2 separate regions of the Homo sapiens genome follow, and region 2 is linked to region 1. Evidence: promoter capture Hi-C in human tissues and cell types (Jung and others, 2019). All regions are on one chromosome and are shown on one strand. Each heading gives the region's core, a stretch centred on a gene start or on the middle of the fragment in contact. The rest is flanking DNA. Distances are from core to core; before and after follow the strand shown.

Evidence for each region. The method cuts DNA at HindIII sites, captures the fragments that hold promoters and counts their contacts. A contact is called where the count stands out against the background at its distance.
Region 2: a fragment that was not itself captured here is called in contact with the fragment with the promoter of MAP2K2 in region 1 in 1 of the 25 tissues and cell types used here (dorsolateral prefrontal cortex).

What each region holds. Positions count from the first base shown.
Region 1 is chr19:4,122,869-4,127,236 of GRCh38, reverse strand. It overlaps MAP2K2 (mitogen-activated protein kinase kinase 2), which reads left to right and starts at 3,115. Exons shown (of 11, transcript NM_030662.4): 1 at 3,115-3,453. The coding sequence starts at 3,362. RefSeq lists silencers at 2,963-3,082, 3,273-3,522. The HindIII fragment of the contact is 9,633 bases long and covers 496-4,368 here.
Region 2 is chr19:3,793,087-3,797,349 of GRCh38, reverse strand. It overlaps a transcript of MATK not described here. Among named protein-coding and RNA genes, the nearest start is that of MATK, 8.8 kb to the right of the region's middle. The HindIII fragment of the contact is 4,542 bases long and covers 1-3,762 here.

The sequences.
Region 1 (4,368 bases), core at 1,866-4,365:
TGTGAGACCAGCCTGAGTGACATGGAGAAACCCTGTCTGGACAAAAAATACAAAAATTAGCCGAGTGTGGTGGCGTATGTTTGTAGCCAGGGCTACTAGGGAGGCTGAGGTGGGAGAATCGCTTGAGCCAGGGAGGTGGAGGCTGCAGAGAGTTATGATCGTGCCACTGCACTCCAGCCTGAGGCCTGGGTGACAGAGTCAGAACTTGTCTTAAAAAGAAAAAAAAAGCCTAAAATAGGATAAAATGGGAGAAAGATTGCTAGGCAAAACAGAAGGAACATGGAAATAGCCCTGTCTCTGAAAGGGCCTGTCCTTATTTGAGGCCACATATGCATCCATCTGAATTTTGGACAAGCGGGTGGGAGCGATGAGAAGTAAAACTGAAAGGCCCAGATTGTAAAAACCCAGGAGCAGGCTTCCCCAGGAGCAGTGTTTTGTTTGTTGTTTTGTTTTGTTTTGTTTTTTTCGAGATGGAGTCTCGGTCGGTCGCCCAGGCTGGAGTGCAATGGCGTGATCTCGGCTCACTGCAACCTCCACCTCCCGGGTTTAAGCGATTCTCCTGCCTCAGCCTCCCGAGTAGCTGGGACTACAGGCACGCATCACCACACCCAGTTAATTTTTGTATTTTTAGTAGAGACGGGGTTTCACCATGTTGGCCAGGATAGTCTCAATCTCTTGACCTCATGATCCACCTGCCTTGGCTTCCCAAAGTGCTGGGATTACAGGCGTGAGCCACCGCGCCCGGCCAGTTGGTTGGTTTTGTTTTTTGAGCGTGAGTCTGGCTCTGTCGCCCAGGCTGGAATGCGATGGCACAATCTCGGCTCACTGCAACCTCCGCCTCCGGGGTTCAGTTATCCCACCTCAGCCTCCCTAGTAGCTGGAATTACAGCCACCCGCCACCACACCTGTGTAATTTTTGTATTTTTAGTAGAGACGAGGTTTCACCATGTTGGCCAGGTTGGTCTCGAACTCCTGACCTCAAGTGATCAGCCCACCTCAGCTTCCCAGGGTCCTGGGATTACAGGTGTGAGCCACGGCACCTGGCAAAAAATTAAATTTTTTTTTGTTCTGTTTTATTGGAGACGGAGTCTTACTTTGTCGCCCAGGCTGGAGGGCAGTGGTGCAATCTTGGCTCACTGCAACGTCTGCCCCCCGGGTTCAAGCGATTCTCCTGCCTCAGCCGCCTGAGTAGCTGAGACTATAGGCACACACCGCCAGGCCTGGCTAATTTTTGTATTTTATTTATTTATTTGTTTGTTTGTTTGTTTGTTTGATTTTTTTGAGACGAAGTCTCGCTCTTGTCTCCCAAGCTGGAGTGCAATGGCGTGATCTTGGCTCACTGCAACCTCTGCCTCCCGGGTTCAAGCAATTCTTCTGCCTCAACCTCGCGAGTAGCTGGGATTACAGGCACGCGCCACCATGCCCGGCTAATTTTTGTATTTTTTTGTTTTAGTAGAGACGGGGTTTCACCATGTTGGCCAGACTCGTCTTCAACTCCTGACCTCAGGTGATCCACCCGCCTCGACCTCCCAAAGTGCTGGGATTACAGGCGTGAGCCACCGCGCCCAGCCTATGACCTTTCTTATAAAGTGGTACGGCTATTGTATTAAATAGTAAGGTGGTGCTTCAAAAAGTTCAACATAGAATTACCATATAATCCAGTAATTCCTCTTCAGAACATATACCCAAAAGAACTCAAGGCAAGGACTCAAACAGATATTTGTACATCTGTGTTCATAGCGGCACGATTCACCGAAGTGTCTAGTGGCAGATAAATGGATAAGCAAAATATAGTCCATGCACACAATAGAATATTATTCAGCCTTAAAAAGGAGGAAAATCCTGACTGGGTGCGGTGGCTCACGCCTGTAATCCCAGCACTTTGGGAGATCGAGGCGGGTGGATCACGAGGTCAGGAGATGGAGACCATCCTGGCTAACACGGTGAAACCCCGTCTCTACTAAAAATACAAAAAAATTAGCCGGGCATGGTGGTGGGCACCTGTAGTCCCAGCTACTCGGGAGGCTGAGGCAGGAGAATGGCGTGAACCCGGGAGGCAGAGTTTGCAGTGGGCCGAGATCGCACCACTGCACTCCAGCCTGGGTGACAGAGCGAGACTCCGTCTCAAAAAAAAAAAAAGGGAAATTTTTCTTTTTTTTTTTTTTTCTGCTCTTTTTTGGAGCAGGGCTACCCGATTGGAAGTATGCCCGGAGTAGTCAAGTGGGTAAATTCTAACACAGGTTACAACGTGGATCTAACACAGCTACAACAGGCACCTTGAGGACGTGGCCCTCAGTGAAATATGCCAGCCACAAAGGGACAAAACCTGTGTGATCCTACTCATATGAAGTCCCTAGAATCATCAGATTCACAGGAAGTACGACGTTGGGTTCCAGGGGCTGGGGAGGGGGATAGGGAGTGAGGTTTCATAGGGGACAGTGTTTCAGTTTCGGAAGATGAGAAAATTCTGGAGATGGTGGTGGTGGTGGTTGCTTAATGCCGCTGAGCTGTGCATTTAGAAATGGTTAAAATGACAAGTTTTATGTTATGTGTATTTTATAATAAAAATGTTTCAACATGCGCATAGTAATATATGCAATTTTATTTGTCAATTAAAATAAATTTTAAAAATGTTTTAGAGTGGCCTTGTTCTGATGAAGGAGGGGGAGTAACTGACACTCTAAGGCGGTGGGGGCTAGGGGCGTGTGTCCACGCTTGCCAAAAAGATTAAATGGACTCTGGGTGGGTCTCGTCCACTGTTCTGGGGTCTTACGGGTTCTCTCAGCCCCAGCCTGGGGCACCACAGGCTCTCAGGAGTCTGGCTACCCTGCCCACCTGTGCACGACCATCACCCCAGCCTTCATCCCTCCGTCTCCTCCCCTGCTCCCGCGCCTCATGCCCCAAGCGCTTGGGCACACGCGCCGTGGTAAGGCAAGCGAGGGCGCCCGGTCCCGGCACCGCCTCGCGTCGGTCTCCGCCCCTTTCCCCTCCGAAAGGCGGCCTTGTGCTGCTGCGCAGGCGCGGCGGCTGGGGGTGGGGTCCATCGCGGCTCCCGATCCCGTTATCGCGAGAAGCCGGTCCGCGATCTTGTGGCCGCCCCTCCCCTCCCCCTGCCTCTCGGACTCGGGCTGCGGCGTCAGCCTTCTTCGGGCCTCGGCAGCGGTAGCGGCTCGCTCGCCTCAGCCCCAGCGCCCCTCGGCTACCCTCGGCCCAGGCCCGCAGCGCCGCCCGCCCTCGGCCGCCCCGACGCCGGCCTGGGCCGCGGCCGCAGCCCCGGGCTCGCGTAGGCGCCGACCGCTCCCGGCCCGCCCCCTATGGGCCCCGGCTAGAGGCGCCGCCGCCGCCGGCCCGCGGAGCCCCGATGCTGGCCCGGAGGAAGCCGGTGCTGCCGGCGCTCACCATCAACCCTACCATCGCCGAGGGCCCATCCCCTACCAGCGAGGGCGCCTCCGAGTGAGTGGGCAGGGGTCAGCCGGAGGCTTGGGGTGCACGGGGCAGGGAGCCCTCGGGGAAGGACGGGGCGAGGGGACGGGGGTTCGCGAGGAGTGCACGAGGCAGGGGGGTCACGGGGGAGGACGGGGTGAGTGGTGCACGGGGCAGGGGGTTCTCGAGGGGAGGACAGGGCAGGGGACCCTCGGGGGAGGACGGGGCAGGGGGCCCTCGGGGGAGGACGGGGCAGGGGGCCCTCGGAGGACGGGGCGAAGGGTGCACGGGGCAGGGGGGTCTTTGAGCAGTGAGATTGGGCGAGGGGAGGTCCTTGTGGTGGAAAAGATGGGGTGTGGGGTTCCTGAAGAGTGGAATTGGGATAACGGGAGTCTCTGAGTAGTGAAGTTGGGGTGAAGGATGTCTCTAAGAGGAGAGGATGGGGACAGGGGTCCCTGAGCAGCGAGGTTGAGTGAGGGGAGGTCCCTGCAGTGCAGAAGATGGGGTGTGGGGCTTCTGAAAAGTGAAGCTGGGGTGAGGGGAGTCCCTCAGTAGGAAAATCGGAATGAGGGGTGTCCCCAAGGAGAGAACAGGATGAGGCTCCCCAAGCAGTGAGATCGGGGTGAGGGGTATCTCTAAGAGGAGAGAACACAGTGTGGGGTCCTTGAGTAGTGAAATGAGGGTGAAGAGTTCCTAAGAGGAAAGGACGGAGTAAAGGTTGCCGTAGTCATGAGATGAGGGTGAGGGGAGACCCTGAGTAGGGAAATCGGGGTGCAGGGCATTCCTGAGAGGAGAGGATGGGGTGTGGGGAGGTCAGGCAGCCCCTGAGGAGGAAATCTGGGCAAGGGGGCTCCAGAGGGGAGAGGATGGGGTGAGGGGTCCCTGAGTAATGAGACTGAGATGGGGTAGGGTCCCTGGTAGGAAAAGACGGGGTAAGGGTCCCTC
Region 2 (4,263 bases), core at 242-2,741, 330 kb after region 1:
ACTCCAGCCTGAGCAACAGAGTGAGACCCTGTCTCAAAAAAAAAAAAAAATTAATAGTCAAAATTAAAATGTCAATAGAAGGGTTGGAAGAAAAAGTAGAAAGTGGGGGGGTGGGGGGGAAGGTAGGCAAGAAAATGAAAACATCAATCCAAGAAGTCCACCCTATGACAATAACGTGTTCCACAAACACGCCAGAGAAACCAAAGTGGAAGAAATCACCAATGATATCATTCAAGAAAGTTTGCCAGGAAGAGAACACAGGAAAGAGCCCACCAAGTACTCAGCACAATGGTTGAAAACAGACCCACACCAAACCCACCACTGTGAAAGTGCAGGATGTAGGGAACAAGAAGATTCTACAAGCTTCCAGAAAGAGAGAGAGAGAGACAGAAATTAACCATGGGACAGGCAAAGTATGAGGAAACAGGACAACTTCTGATCATTCAGCTGCCCAAGACTAGAAGCTGGAAAACATTGGGCAAAAGAAAAGTATCCACCTACAATACTGTCAGCCAAACCTCTAATTACCCAGGAGAGTAGGAGGAAAACACTTTCTCTGGAAACCCTAGGGGGAGCACATTCCTAAAACAAGGGACCAAACCAAGAAACAGGGAGACCCACACCCAAGAAACAGGAGCTATATCTAAGAATCCCCTTGTGCCGAAGAAGAGAGGGGCCAGGATCACAGCTGGGCAGTAGGAGAAAGTCCTGAGTGGAGATGTCAGTTCTGGTGGAGAGGCTGGGGGAAAGAGTCACAGACACATAAAACCAAGGCGATGACTAACTCCAGGGAAATAAAAAAGCAGGTCCCAGAAAATAATGTTCTTAGTATACATTGCTCCACTGTCAATAATATTTATATTAATATATATACTATAAGCACTGAATTTTCATTTAAGCAAAAATTGTGATTTAACTGTTGGGGGAGCAGAATGCCTAAGAGAGCTAAATCTTGACCTTCTGGAATAGGAAGTCAATGGACAACATCCAACTGATAAATCAAGGGATGTGTAAAACACATTACTTGGAACTATGGAGGTAAATACCTGAAAACAGCAACAGCAACCCCTGAGGAGTGGGACATTATATTGCTTTGTCTTCAGCACACAGTAAAACACCCTATAAATATCAGCTGCTATTCATACCAACAAGAATATACTTACCCTTGAGAGGCTCATTGCTGAGTTGAGGAGCTTTATTTATATATTTTGAGTTTTATTTTTTTAAACACTTCTTGAGAGCTTATTACATGCCATGAGTATCAGCACATTTAATTTAACAGATTGAAAAATACAGCTGGTGGCTCACACGTGTAATCCCAGCACTTTGGGAGGCCGAGGCAAGCAGATCACTTGAGGTCAGGAGTTCGAGACCAGCCTGGCCAACATGGTGAAACCTCATCTCTACTAAAAATACAAAAATTAGCCAGGCGTGATGGCGCGTGCCTGTAATCCTAGCTATTCAAGAGGCTGAGGCAGGAGAATAGCTTGAACCTGGGAGGCGGAGGATGCAGTGAGCCAAGATCACGCCTCTGCACTCCAGCCTGGACGAAACAGTGAGATTCCATCTCAAAAAAAAAAAAAAAAAAAAAAAAAAAAGCACCTACTTATGAGAAAATAAAGACTGTGAGAAGGCAGCGGAGAGCAAACTACAGTCTGAGGGCCAAGTCCAACCTGCCATCTGTATCCGCACAACTCCTCCAGCTAAAATCGTTTTTTTACATTTGTAAATAGTTGGAGGAAAATGGAATCAATATTATATGACATATGAAAAGTCATATGAGGCCGGGCATGGTGGCTCATATCTGTAATCCCAGCACTTTGGGAGGCCAAAGTGGGCAGATCATCTAAGGTCAGGAGTTCAAGACCAGCCTGGCCAACATGAAACCCATCTCTACTAAAATACAAAAATTAGCCGGGTGTGGTGGCACATGCCTGTAATCCCAGCTACTTGGGAGGTTGAGACATGAGAATTGCTTGAACCCAGGAGGCAGAAGTTGCAGTGAGCCGAGATCACGTTAATGCATTCCAGCCTGGGTAACAGAGTGAGACTCTGTCTCAAAAAAAAAAAAAAGGCCAGGCTTGGTGGCTCACGCCCATAATCCTAGCACTTTGGGAGGCCGAGGTGGGCGGATCACGAGGTCAGGAGATCGAGACCATCCTGGCTAACACGATGAAATCCCTTCTCTACTAAAAATGCAAAAAATTAGGCGGGTGTGGTGGCGGGCGCCTGTAGTCCCAGCTACATGGGAGACTGAGGCAGGACAATGGTGTGAACCTGGGAGGTGGAGCGTGCAGTGAGCCAAGATCACGCCACTGCACTCCAGCCTGGGCAACAGAGCGAGACTCCAGCTCAAAAAAAAAAAAAAAAAAAAGCAAAAGAAAAGAAAAGTAATATGAAAGTCAAATGTCCATGTCCATAAATAAAGTTTTATTGGAATGCAGCCACGGTCTTTGGCTTCTGTGTTATCTATGGTGTCCCTGAAATGGCAGAGCTGAGTAGTTGGGACAGAGACCAGCATGCCCTTTAGAGAGACAGTTTGCTGGGCCCTGAGTTAGAGCATGAGGTCATGAGAGGATGAAGAGGGATCCTGGAGGAGAGACTTAGGGGCTGCTCTTGAGTAGACATGACTGGTTTATTCCGGAATAATGTGTATCTCCTGTTCTCCTTACTTGATCTTTTCTTTTCTTTTTTTGAGACAGGGTCTTGCTCTGTTGCCCAGGCTGGAGTGCAGTAGCATAATCATAGCTGACTGCAGCCTCAACCTCCTGGGCTCAAGTGATCCTCCTGCCTCAGCTTCCTGAGTGGCTGGGACTACAGGCATACACCACCACACCCAGCTAGTTTATTTTATTTTTTGTAGAGACAGGGTCTCACTATGTTGGCCAGACTGGTCTCCAATGGCAGGGCTCAAGCAATCCTCCCACCTCAGCCTCCCAAAGTGCTGGGATTGCAAGCGTGAGCCTTCATGCCTGGCCTCCTTCCTCAGACTTTACCCTCTCATCTGCTTCTGTAAGGGCCTTTTATGTGCCAGGCTCCAGACCTAAATGGTTGCCGGGCCCAGGGCTGGTCGTTACCCTCATTAGGAAGATATATTCTGTCGTGGGAAGCAAGGATGGAGGGAGATTGACAATGACGAGTGAGACAGGATAACAGGTGGGGATTCCGGCTTTGACAATAGAGAGTAACTAAGGGTGACCACTGTGGGGTGGCCAGGGAGGGTCTCTTGGAGAAGCTGAAAGTGCAGAGAAGTAGCTGGCCTTGAGAAGAGCTGGGGGAAGGATGTAGTACTAGGAGATAGGAAGAGCATGTGCAAAGGTCCTGTGGCTGCCCCATGCCTGAGCTTTTGGGAGACAAGGGAGAAGCTGGGAGCAGAGAGGTGACAGCCACTGGACCGCAGAGGTGACAAAGCACCGGGAGGCACACTGAGCTTAGTGGGAACCATGGGAAGCTTTTATTTTATTTATTTTTTATTTATTTATTTTGACAGTCTCACTCTATCACCCAGGCTGGAATGCAGTGGCCTGATCTCAGCTCATTGCAACCTCCACCTCCCAGGTTTAAGTGATTCTCCTGCCTCAGCTTCCCGAGTAGCTGGGATTATAGGCACATGCCACCACGCCCAGCTAATTTTTTTTTTTTTTCTTGAGATGGAGTCTCCACTCTGTCGCCCAGGCTGGAGTGCAGTGGCGTGATCTCCGCTCAGTGCAAGCTCTGCCTCCCGGGTTCACGCCATTCTCCTGCCTCAGCCTCCCGAGTAGCTGGGACTACAGGCACCCGCCACCACACCTGGCTAATTTTTATATTTTTAGTAGAGACGGGGTTTCACCATGTTAGCCAGAATGATCTCGATCTCCTGACCTCGTGATCCACCCTCCTCAGCCTCCCAAAGTGCTGGGATTATAGGCATGAGCCACCGCACCTGGCCTAATTTTTGTATTTTTTTAGTAGAGACGGGATTTCACCATGTTGGTCAGACTGGTCTCGAACTCCTGACCTCAGATGATCCACCAGCCTCGGCCTCCCAAAGAGCTGGGATTACAGGCGTGAGCCACCACGCCCAGCCGGGAAGCTTTTAAGGCCGGATGTGACACAGACCCAGTTTCCACGGATGAAACCTGCAAGTGTGGCTGGAAAACAACCTGTCCGGCTGCGTCTTAAGGACGAGGAAGACGGGGCAAGGGTTTTCCAGCAAAGACGCCCAAAGCAGCTCGCCCCAAGAGGCCCTTCGTTCAAGGAATCGAGAATGGCCGGGCAGACAGC